Linked DNA regions of Homo sapiens: regions 1 and 2 are each linked to region 3. Evidence: promoter capture Hi-C in 16 types of primary human blood cells and fetal thymus (Javierre and others, 2016). All regions are on one chromosome and are shown on one strand. Each heading gives the region's core, a stretch centred on a gene start or on the middle of the fragment in contact. The rest is flanking DNA. Distances are from core to core; before and after follow the strand shown. Region 1 overlaps DNAJC1 (DnaJ heat shock protein family (Hsp40) member C1). Region 2 overlaps DNAJC1 (DnaJ heat shock protein family (Hsp40) member C1). Region 3 holds the start of MLLT10 (MLLT10 histone lysine methyltransferase DOT1L cofactor).

Region 1 (3,131 bases), core at 630-3,129, 420 kb after region 3:
TTTGCCTGGATCATTACAAAATCTAACATATCTCCCAGCTTCAGACCCTACCTGGCACCTTGCCTCAACAGTCTATTTTCAGCACAGCAGCCAGATTAAAACAAAAAACAGATGCAGTTAAAAGCCTCCAACAGTTTATACATAACACACACACACACACACACACACACACACACACAAGTAGGTGTAAATTTTTCTTTTCAGACAATTCTTATTTCTAGATTTTTTTTTTTTTTTTTGAGACAGAGTTTTGCTCTGTCGCCCAGGCTACAGTGCAGCGATCTCGGCTCGCTGCAACCTCCGCCTCCCGGGTTCAAGTGATTCTCCTGCCTCAGCCCCCCAAGGAACTGGGATTACAGGTACCCGCCACCGCACCTGACTAATTTTTGTATTTTTAGTAGAGACAGGGTTTCACCATCTTGGCCAGGCTGGTCTTGAACTCCTGACCTCGTGATCCACCCGCCTCGGCCTCCCAAAGTGCTGGGATTACAGGTGTGAGCCACTGCGCCTGACCAGAATTCTTTGTAATAACTTTAACCATATGTATTTTGCCAATCCCTGATTATAGCACTGTTTCTTATTTCTGATTATTCAGAAACCCTTTAAAGAAAGCATGGAAGAATAAAGCCTCCTCTATTCACTTAACTTTATCATTAATACTTTCATTGTCATCTTAATTCTTTTCCTCTATTATCCTATTTGTTTTTACTGCTGTAAATAAATTGTACATATTATATTGTACCTTCCTTTTGTCAGTATATATAAAAGTTTCCATTTTACTTCATAAATTTAATAAAGTAATGTTTATGTTTATGGTCAAGTAATGTTATAGCTCCACTGAGTTAATTTAGTATAATCTACTTACCCATTCATATTTGATCTTTGCAATAGTTCTGTACTATATCAAATTGGCAACTAAACATTTTTCATGTGTTTACTTTCTTCTCTATCACCACGGCCATTATTTAGGCTTTACTCATCTTTTTTCCTTTTCAGTTATTTAGTCTCTTTATACTTTGCTTTCTGTCAATTACACAAGTAACACATGAATAAATAAATACATACATTCTTCTTCAAAGCCTCATTCTCTCAACAGAAGTAATTATCATCAGTTTGGTACATATACTTCTCAATATTTTTTTAAAAATGTGCTTACTTTCATATATGTGTACATGTAGAAATGTTCCACTTTCTTTAAGTGATGGTACATTAAGTGACGGCAAACTTAATGTACTATTATTAAGCAAAATACCTTTCTTATATTAAAACAGGCTCATAATACCTGCTTCTGTCCATTCACATATTTCTCTACTGGGCTTTACTGTAATATTCAGTTTCATATAAGATATGCTACCTAACACTGGTTTTACCAAGGATTTGGCTTTTTATTAGAAGCATATAATTGAGAATACCATTGTATTAAATATATACTATTTTAAAACAGAAACATATAAGTAGAAACCTGAAACTAAAACTATAATGGAGTTAAAAAGTTCAACCAAAATTTCTCCATATAATACTAATAAAATTTTAATCCAAATGATTGAGAAATGAAGGTTTTTTTCTTTCTTTCTGGTATTTATGTATTTTTAACAGCTTTATTTAAGTATAATTTACAAACCATAAGAGTCACCTGTTTTAAGTGTTTAGTGATTTTTAGTACATTTATATAGTTCTGCAACATCACGATAATCTAGTTTTAGAATATTTCCATCAACCCAAAAAGATTCCTTGTACCTGTCTCCACAGATTTGTCTTTTTTTTTTTTTTTGAGACGGAGTCTCGTTCTGTTGCCCAGGCTGGAGTGCAGTGGCGCGATCTCGGTCACTGCAACCTCCGCCTCCTGGGCTCAAGCGATTCTCCTTCCTCAGCCTTCTCAGTAGCTAGGACTACAGTGCGTGCCACCACGCCCAGCTAATTTTTCGTATTTTTAGTAGAGACGGGGTTTCACCGTGTTAGCCAGGACAGTCTCGATCTCCTCACCTCGTGATCCACCTGCCTCGGCCTCCCAAAGTGCTGGGATTACAGGAGTGAGCCACCGCGCCTGGCCCAGATTTGCCTTTTCTAGGCATTTCATATAAATGGAAGGGATGAGGTTTTTCTGATATATTTAAACGTCAGATTTGGCAGAAAAAAAAATCACTATTTTTTTTGCAGAAAAATTTTGCTGTTGAACTTCTTTCTAAAAGTTATTAACATGCTTTGTTCATTTGGTAAGAACATTTTGAATATAACAGAGCTCCTTCTCCTTCTTTACTTCCTACCCTTCCTTCTCTTCCTTTTACCAGTTTATGCTCTTTTAATATTTAACAATCTTTACTCTCAACAGCCCGGTTTCTCAGTACAGAATGCATGGAAGGTATGAGGAATTGGCCTTTCTAGTTCAACTCCACTAAATATCCTGATAGTTTAACAGGAAAACAAAACACCAAGAAATCCAACATACTGAACTTTTTTCTTTTTTTCTGAGATGGAGTCTCGCTCGGTTACCTAGGCTAGGATGCAGTGGTGAGACCTTGGCTTGCTGCAACCTCTGCCTTCCGGGTTCAAGCAATTCTCTTGCCTTAGCCTCCTGAGTAGCTGGGATTACAGGTGTCTGCCACCAGGCCCGGCTAATTTTTTTTGTATTTTTAATAGAGACGGGGTTTCACCATGTTGGCCAGGCTGGTTTTGAACTCCTGACCTCAAGTGATCTGCCTGCCTCAGCCTCCCAAAGTGCTAGGAGTACAGGTATGAGCTACTGCGCCCAGCCACACTGAACATATTATATCCTCGAGATGTTTTAGTTTCTCCTGAATGTGGAATACATTTTTAAAACACTGATGAGAAATCCGGCCAAGCACTGTGGCTCATGCCTGTGATCCCAGCACTTTGGGAAGCCATGCAGATCACCTGAGGTCAGGAGTTTGAGACCAGCCTGGCCAAAATGGTGAAACTCTGTCTCTACTGAAAATACAAAAATGAGCTGAGCTTGGTGGCAGGTGCCTGTAGTCCCAGCTACCCGGGAGGCCAAGGCAGGAGAATCACTTGGACCTGGGAGGCAGAGGTTGCAGTGAGCCGGGATAGTGCCGCTTCACTTCAGCCTAGGCGACAGAGGGAGACTCCATCTCAAAAAAAACAAAAACAAAAAA
Region 2 (2,909 bases), core at 28-2,527, 390 kb after region 3:
CCTAGTGAAGGACACAGATATTTAGGCTGGCTTTTGCCTAAATGTCAAATAGCCAGGTGTTGTTTTGTTTTGTTTTTTACAGGTACTCTTGTATCGTAGAACATTTTCAAATTTTGGATTGTGGTCCACTAGTGTCTCATGAAATGAATTTAGTGAACCACAACCAACATTTTTAAAAAATAAATAAATAAAAAACACCAAAAGACTAGTCTAGCCTAGAATAGAAAATAATGTGTTTAACATGCAATAAGAAATATCTTGTGAAACTATTGTTTTAGTTATGTGTGTGTGTGTGCGTATGTGTTGTGGTCTGACTTAAAAAACTTAGAAGGCTGCTGAAATGATGTCTACATTCCATACATTCTGTAGGAGTAGAGGAAAGGGGCCTCTGTGTAATCTCCTCTTAAGTCACTGGCATTATAAACTACTACATAAATATATTGCCAGTCTTCTGAAAGGGGCACAGAGAAGTCTTAGAGTGAGGGGCTACCTCCACTCTGAAGTTTAACCCTGAATGCAGAATTGCCGGAGCAGAGTAAAGGAAGGGAAGGAGGCAAAAGAAATAGATGCAAGAGGCAAAGTTTTCTTTCTTCTACAGGCTTACAGAAGCTTATATAACTGGGTTATTCTGAGAGTGAGGAAATATCAAGAAAGAGTACTAACTTGACTATCACTACAGTCTAATTCAAACATTTAAGGAATGGGGGGGAAAAGCACCAAGCATCAGGCACAGATAGGAGCTATTACTGACATATGGGAAGGAATGGACATTTATTTGAATTCAGGCAGTATTTGTATCTCCCAGGGCATAAACACTCATGTTAAAAGTCGTATTAAGGAAGCCCGGACTTGCTAACATTATGACTCAAAATCCTGAAGCTTGTATGTATCAAATCAATCTAGTGAATACTTTCAATAAAATTAACTCTGCTTCAAACACACATTTTTAAAACACTGCATTTCTCGGAAGGAACAAAAATAAAATGCTAACATAATAATAAAATGTTTAAGAAGACTTAATTCTTTATAAACTGTAGCATGAAACTATAACATCTTAATTCAAAAGCAGAAATGAACACTCACCTCTGCCTTCGTTCATCATCCTTTAAAACTTCATAAATGGCCACCAACTAAAATAAAAGCATTACTTTAAAATAAAAATACTCTCAACTATAAGAAATCACATAGGAGGGTGAAGGCACTACAATACACATGCAGAAAATCCTATGTGCCTATATATACAATAAACAGATGAAATCTCCTTTATAAGTAACACTATGTTTTGGTAGTACCTTAAGAGATTAAAAATGCTTGATATCAAAATAAATCTTTGTGACAGTTACAAAAGTAATACTTATCTTAAAATGTGCATTTAGAAGCAAAAGCTGTAATTTAGACAAGAAAATTATGACAATTATGACCCTCCAAGAATTTAGAGATGCTAATACAAAATAGTAAAAATGCATTTTGTAGAAACTTGAAAAAAAATATACACTATATTTTAAACTACTACCTCATTTTCAAATGAAAATATTCCATATATAAGTGAATATTTCTACCATCGACATGTTAATACATTTGTCACAAAATATATATATAATAGCATATTTCACTTACTTGTCTAAACTGAGTTTCTGCATTTTCATCTTTATTCTTGTCTGGATGTAAAGTTAGTGAAAGCTTACGATATGCTTTTCTGATGTCTGCAGATGATGCATCCTGGAGGTGGTAGGGGGAGGGGAAAATACAAAGCAAACTTTGTCAGAAAAAGAAATTCCCAGAACCTTGTTAAGATCTGAGAAGACAGCCAACCAAGTGCAGGACCCCAGGCAATGTAATTTGAGCAATCAGTCTTAACAACCAGGCTATGCAACAAGCCTGACCCACATGACTGAACAATTATTCAATCTAATTTGGCTCTCCTCTTAACTTTTCATTACCATACAGTCATTTAAAGAAGACAGTATTTGGCGAAACTTTTCAAACACTTGCCTTCCTAAAATTAACCAATAAATCTTTTTCAGTAATTAAGAGATCAAAAAGAAACAAATTAAAAATTAATACATCGGTGTGCCTTCAAAGAAACTCTTTATTTACTGGCAAATGTTAAAGCCAATTTCTGAATCCCGGGCTAACCATATGGTTTCTCTATTATTTATATTGAGTTTATCATCTCAGCAACAACCTATGGAATCTCACTTTCACATGTCAAAAAGCATGCCTATCTGAAGGGAGTTAAATTAGCATTTATCAAAAATTATTATCATTAGAAAGAGTTAAATATACTATACTTATTTACTTAGTACTTTAAAGGGTATTTTCAATGTTGGCCAGCCTCCTCAGTCTGGTTCATACAAATAAATTTGCCCAATATTTATGTATTACTTGTATAGTTTAAATATATTTAAAAGGTTACCGTGGTTCAGTACTTAGATTAAGTGGATATTAAAATTACATTTTATATAATCCTGTGTGCACAGGTAAAATCAGACAACATCATTTTTACATGGCCAGTATAAAATGCATAATAATAACAAAGAATACACTGTCAAGTAGGGTTTAAAACTTTTTTTGAGACAGTCTGATTCTACCACCCAGGCTGGAGTGCGGCGGCACAATCTCAGCTCACTGCAACCTCCACCTCCTGGGTCCAAGAGATTCTTGTGCCTCAGCCTCCAGAGGAGCTGGAATTATAGGCATGCGCCACCACACCCAGCTAATTTTTGTATTTTTAGTAGAAATGGGGTTTCCCCAGGTTGGCCAGGCTGGTCTCGAACTCCTGACCTCAAGTGATCCAACAGCCTCGGCCTCCCAAAGTGTAGGATTACAGGTGTGAGCCACCGCGCCTGGCTGGGGTTTAAAACTTGATCTGTATTAAACTTAAAGTGTATTAAAATAACATATTAATA
Region 3 (2,879 bases), core at 379-2,878:
ATTAATTGTTGTCACATCCCAAAAAAGAATTCATATTATGTAGTCTTGTAGTCACCTTTTCTAAATGCACTATGTGAATTCTCATTGTTTTAGTGTATATTTTAATTGCCATTACTTTGTATATCTCAGCTTTTAAAACATCTGAATTTGCTATATATGCTCTCATTGTGCTGTATACCTATTATCACTCTTACACAGATTTCTAGCAATTAATTTGAAATAGAAAAACAGCCATGATACCTTTTCTAACCCCCCTTTATCAGAAGAACATTTAGAAGGCTTTTAAAGCCCAAACCATTATATTATCTTTTGGCGACCGACTAGGAGAACTTGGGTTCTCTATGCTTTAGCACTGTGAAAGTGCATCTTCCAGATCAGCACATTTATAATGCGAATTGCTGATAAAGAACCATTTTGTACCTGCAAGGTATTAATCAAAAGTCATGAATTCGCCTTTTAACTGGGCTTGTCATTTAAACAATCTATGCATAATTCTGATTTCATGCGAAACTTTTCTAATTAGACATTTTTTGCTTAAACATCAATATTGGGCTTTACGGATGCATAAGGAATAGGCAGACAGTGGAAGATTTTAGTTTAAAAGTGCTCAGCATCCAGCTAATTAATCTATGCAGATAGGCCTAATCCATTTTCCATTTGTTTGTGAGGTGGGAGCTCTCATCTTTCTGCCACTTTTAAATGACCTCACATTTCCAAGTATAAATTTGGAGAAAAGACCCGGATCAGAGGAATCCTCCATCAAAACTGGACGCCACTGTCTGATGGCGTTAATTATGTTTTAGCGACTGACTAGGAGGGCTAGAGTTCCTTCTTCCTTTTGGTGTAATACAACTGCATTTTCCGGATCATCGTATTATATTGCTAATTCCGGATAAACCACCATTTGTCCTGCACACCGAGCTGAGGGGCGCCTTGGCGTTCCCTCTCCGAGTGCAGCCCTAACACAGGCTTTTGACCTTCAGCCTGGAATACACTTTCGTTTGTCATTGGGGCCCACGTAGTGCGAAAATGGGCGGCAGATTTGGTAGGACTTCCAGCGGGTGAACTTTGGGAAGAGTCCAGGACGTGAATTTAATGGGTGGAGTGGCTGCGGCAGCACTGTGAAGTTAGCGCGGCCAACTGCAGGAAGCCATGCTTCATTACACCCTTCATGGAAGCTGGCACACTCGCCCCACCCTCGTTTTCCACGGGCCAGTCTTGGAGGAAAAGGCCAGCAGGTAGGTTCCCAGGGCACGGAGATGATGCCCCCGGGGACTCCCCTCTGGCGATTCTGAGAAAACCCCTTCCCAGCCCTGGGCGTCCACCTCCCCCGCCACCTCCCAGGCCTCTTCCCGACGCTCACACGCGGCCCGCGCCACCAGCGCTGCAGAGGGCGGCCCTAACGTCCCCGCCCCCGCGTGCGCGCCCCCGCGCCCGTTCATTCCGGCCTCCGCGCGCCGCCGGCTCCCCTCGCGCCCACCCCCAGCACACCTCGGCGGCGGCGAGCGGCGCGGGGGAGGGGGACGGGGCCCCGGAGGTAGGCCGGGGGCAGCCAACAGGCCGCGGCAGCGCGCACGCAGGGCTAGCCTCGCCCAGGCCTCCTCCCTCACGCCGGCCGCAGGACGGGCGCGCACGCCAAGTGACGCTCCGAGGAGGAAGCGCAGCCCCCTTCCCCTCCCTCGCTGCCCCTGGCCCAGCGGGAGCCCCCCCTCCCCCCAGTGCGCCTGTGCGGAGGCCCTCTTGATTATGTGTGCCCTCTCCGGGCGCCCGCGTTAGCGGCCGGGTGGAGGTGGGGAGGGAAGACGCTGAGGAGGAGGAGGAGGCGGAGGAGGCGGTGGAGGGGAGGTGGGGGGAATCAGCAAGGACATGGCTCCTGACTCCTGTGCGGAACGTGAGTGACTGAGCGGCAAAGCCCGAGTGAGCGAGCGGTGGGCTGCCGGGCCGGGCGGGGGGCGCCGGGGCGGGCTCGGGGGGCTGTGTGGGGGGGAAGCACTAATCGGCTTGCATGTGTTTTTTAATGGTCCCCCCAACTCCCTCTTAGATGGTCTCTAGCGACCGGCCCGTGTCACTGGAGGACGAGGTCTCCCATAGTATGAAGGAGATGATTGGAGGCTGTTGCGTTTGCTCAGACGAGAGAGGCTGGGCCGAGAACCCGCTGGTTTATTGCGACGGGCACGGCTGCAGCGTCGCGGTGCATCAAGGTAAACACCCAACCGCCCGCCGGGGCGCGCCGGCCTGCGCCCAACGGTCACCGCCGCCCCCACCTGGGCCGCAACCGCCGGCGCCCCCGCCCCGTGCCGCGGCCGCGGGAGGGACGCGGAGGGTCCGCGGCGGGGCGCGGGGGGTGTGGGCCGCGCATGTGGGAGAAAGTGCGTGTGGCCCGGACTGTCATGTGATTCCGCTCTCACTCTCTCAAGTGTCATTCGGCCGCCGCCTGCGCCTGGGGCCGGGGTCTGCTGACTCGGCGGGGCGGGGCGGGGCAGGGCGGCGGCCGCGCCCTCGAGATCTGGGCCGGGGTGGGGGCGGGGGCGGGGGCGGGGGCGGTGCGCGCCCTTCCCGGGGTTCCCGGGGCCACGGGGGTGGGTTTGGGAGAGTGGAGCGCCCTCTTCTCCCCTGGCCTGCAGCCGCCTGTCTGCCGCAGTGTTTGGAGACTTCCTGTGGCGTGGAGACGGGCTCGGGAACGCGGCGCCAGTGTGGGGAGGCTGGGGGTCGCCTTGCCTCTTTAGATGGGGAGGGATGCGGGGCCCGTTGCACCCCGAGCCAGAAGGCTCGGGCCCTGCCGCCGCCGCCCGGTAGCTGTCTGCGGAGGAGATGGCGGAGTCCGTTGCTGACCATGCGGGAGTGGCGGGGCTGCTGCAGCGCCTGTGGGGTGGCCGCGG

What was found. The method cuts DNA at HindIII sites, captures the fragments that hold promoters and counts their contacts. A CHiCAGO score of 5 or more calls a contact.
Region 1: a fragment that was not itself captured here is called in contact with the fragment with the promoter of MLLT10 in region 3 in 7 of 17 cell types (non-activated CD4 T cells, naive CD4 T cells, erythroblasts and 4 more); the score reaches 8.0 in non-activated CD4 T cells.
Region 2: a fragment that was not itself captured here is called in contact with the fragment with the promoter of MLLT10 in region 3 in 1 of 17 cell types (endothelial precursors); the score reaches 6.7 in endothelial precursors.

The regions. Positions count from the first base shown.
Region 1 is chr10:21,956,676-21,959,806 of GRCh38, forward strand. The region is part of intron 1 of DNAJC1 (DnaJ heat shock protein family (Hsp40) member C1); the gene reads right to left. Among named protein-coding and RNA genes, the nearest start is that of DNAJC1, 45 kb to the right of the region's middle. The HindIII fragment of the contact is 7,617 bases long and covers 1-3,131 here.
Region 2 is chr10:21,927,423-21,930,331 of GRCh38, forward strand. DNAJC1 (DnaJ heat shock protein family (Hsp40) member C1) reads right to left here. Exons shown (of 12, transcript NM_022365.4): 2 at 1,618-1,719; 3 at 1,084-1,130. Among named protein-coding and RNA genes, the nearest start is that of DNAJC1, 75 kb to the right of the region's middle. The HindIII fragment of the contact is 801 bases long and covers 878-1,678 here.
Region 3 is chr10:21,532,604-21,535,482 of GRCh38, forward strand. It overlaps MLLT10 (MLLT10 histone lysine methyltransferase DOT1L cofactor), which reads left to right and starts at 1,629. Exons shown (of 23, transcript NM_001195626.3): 1 at 1,629-1,917; 2 at 2,042-2,201. The coding sequence starts at 2,042. RefSeq lists enhancers at 1,198-1,911, 2,627-2,879 and silencers at 1,277-1,806, 1,817-1,886, 1,997-2,336, 2,477-2,566. The HindIII fragment of the contact is 10,036 bases long and covers 1-2,879 here.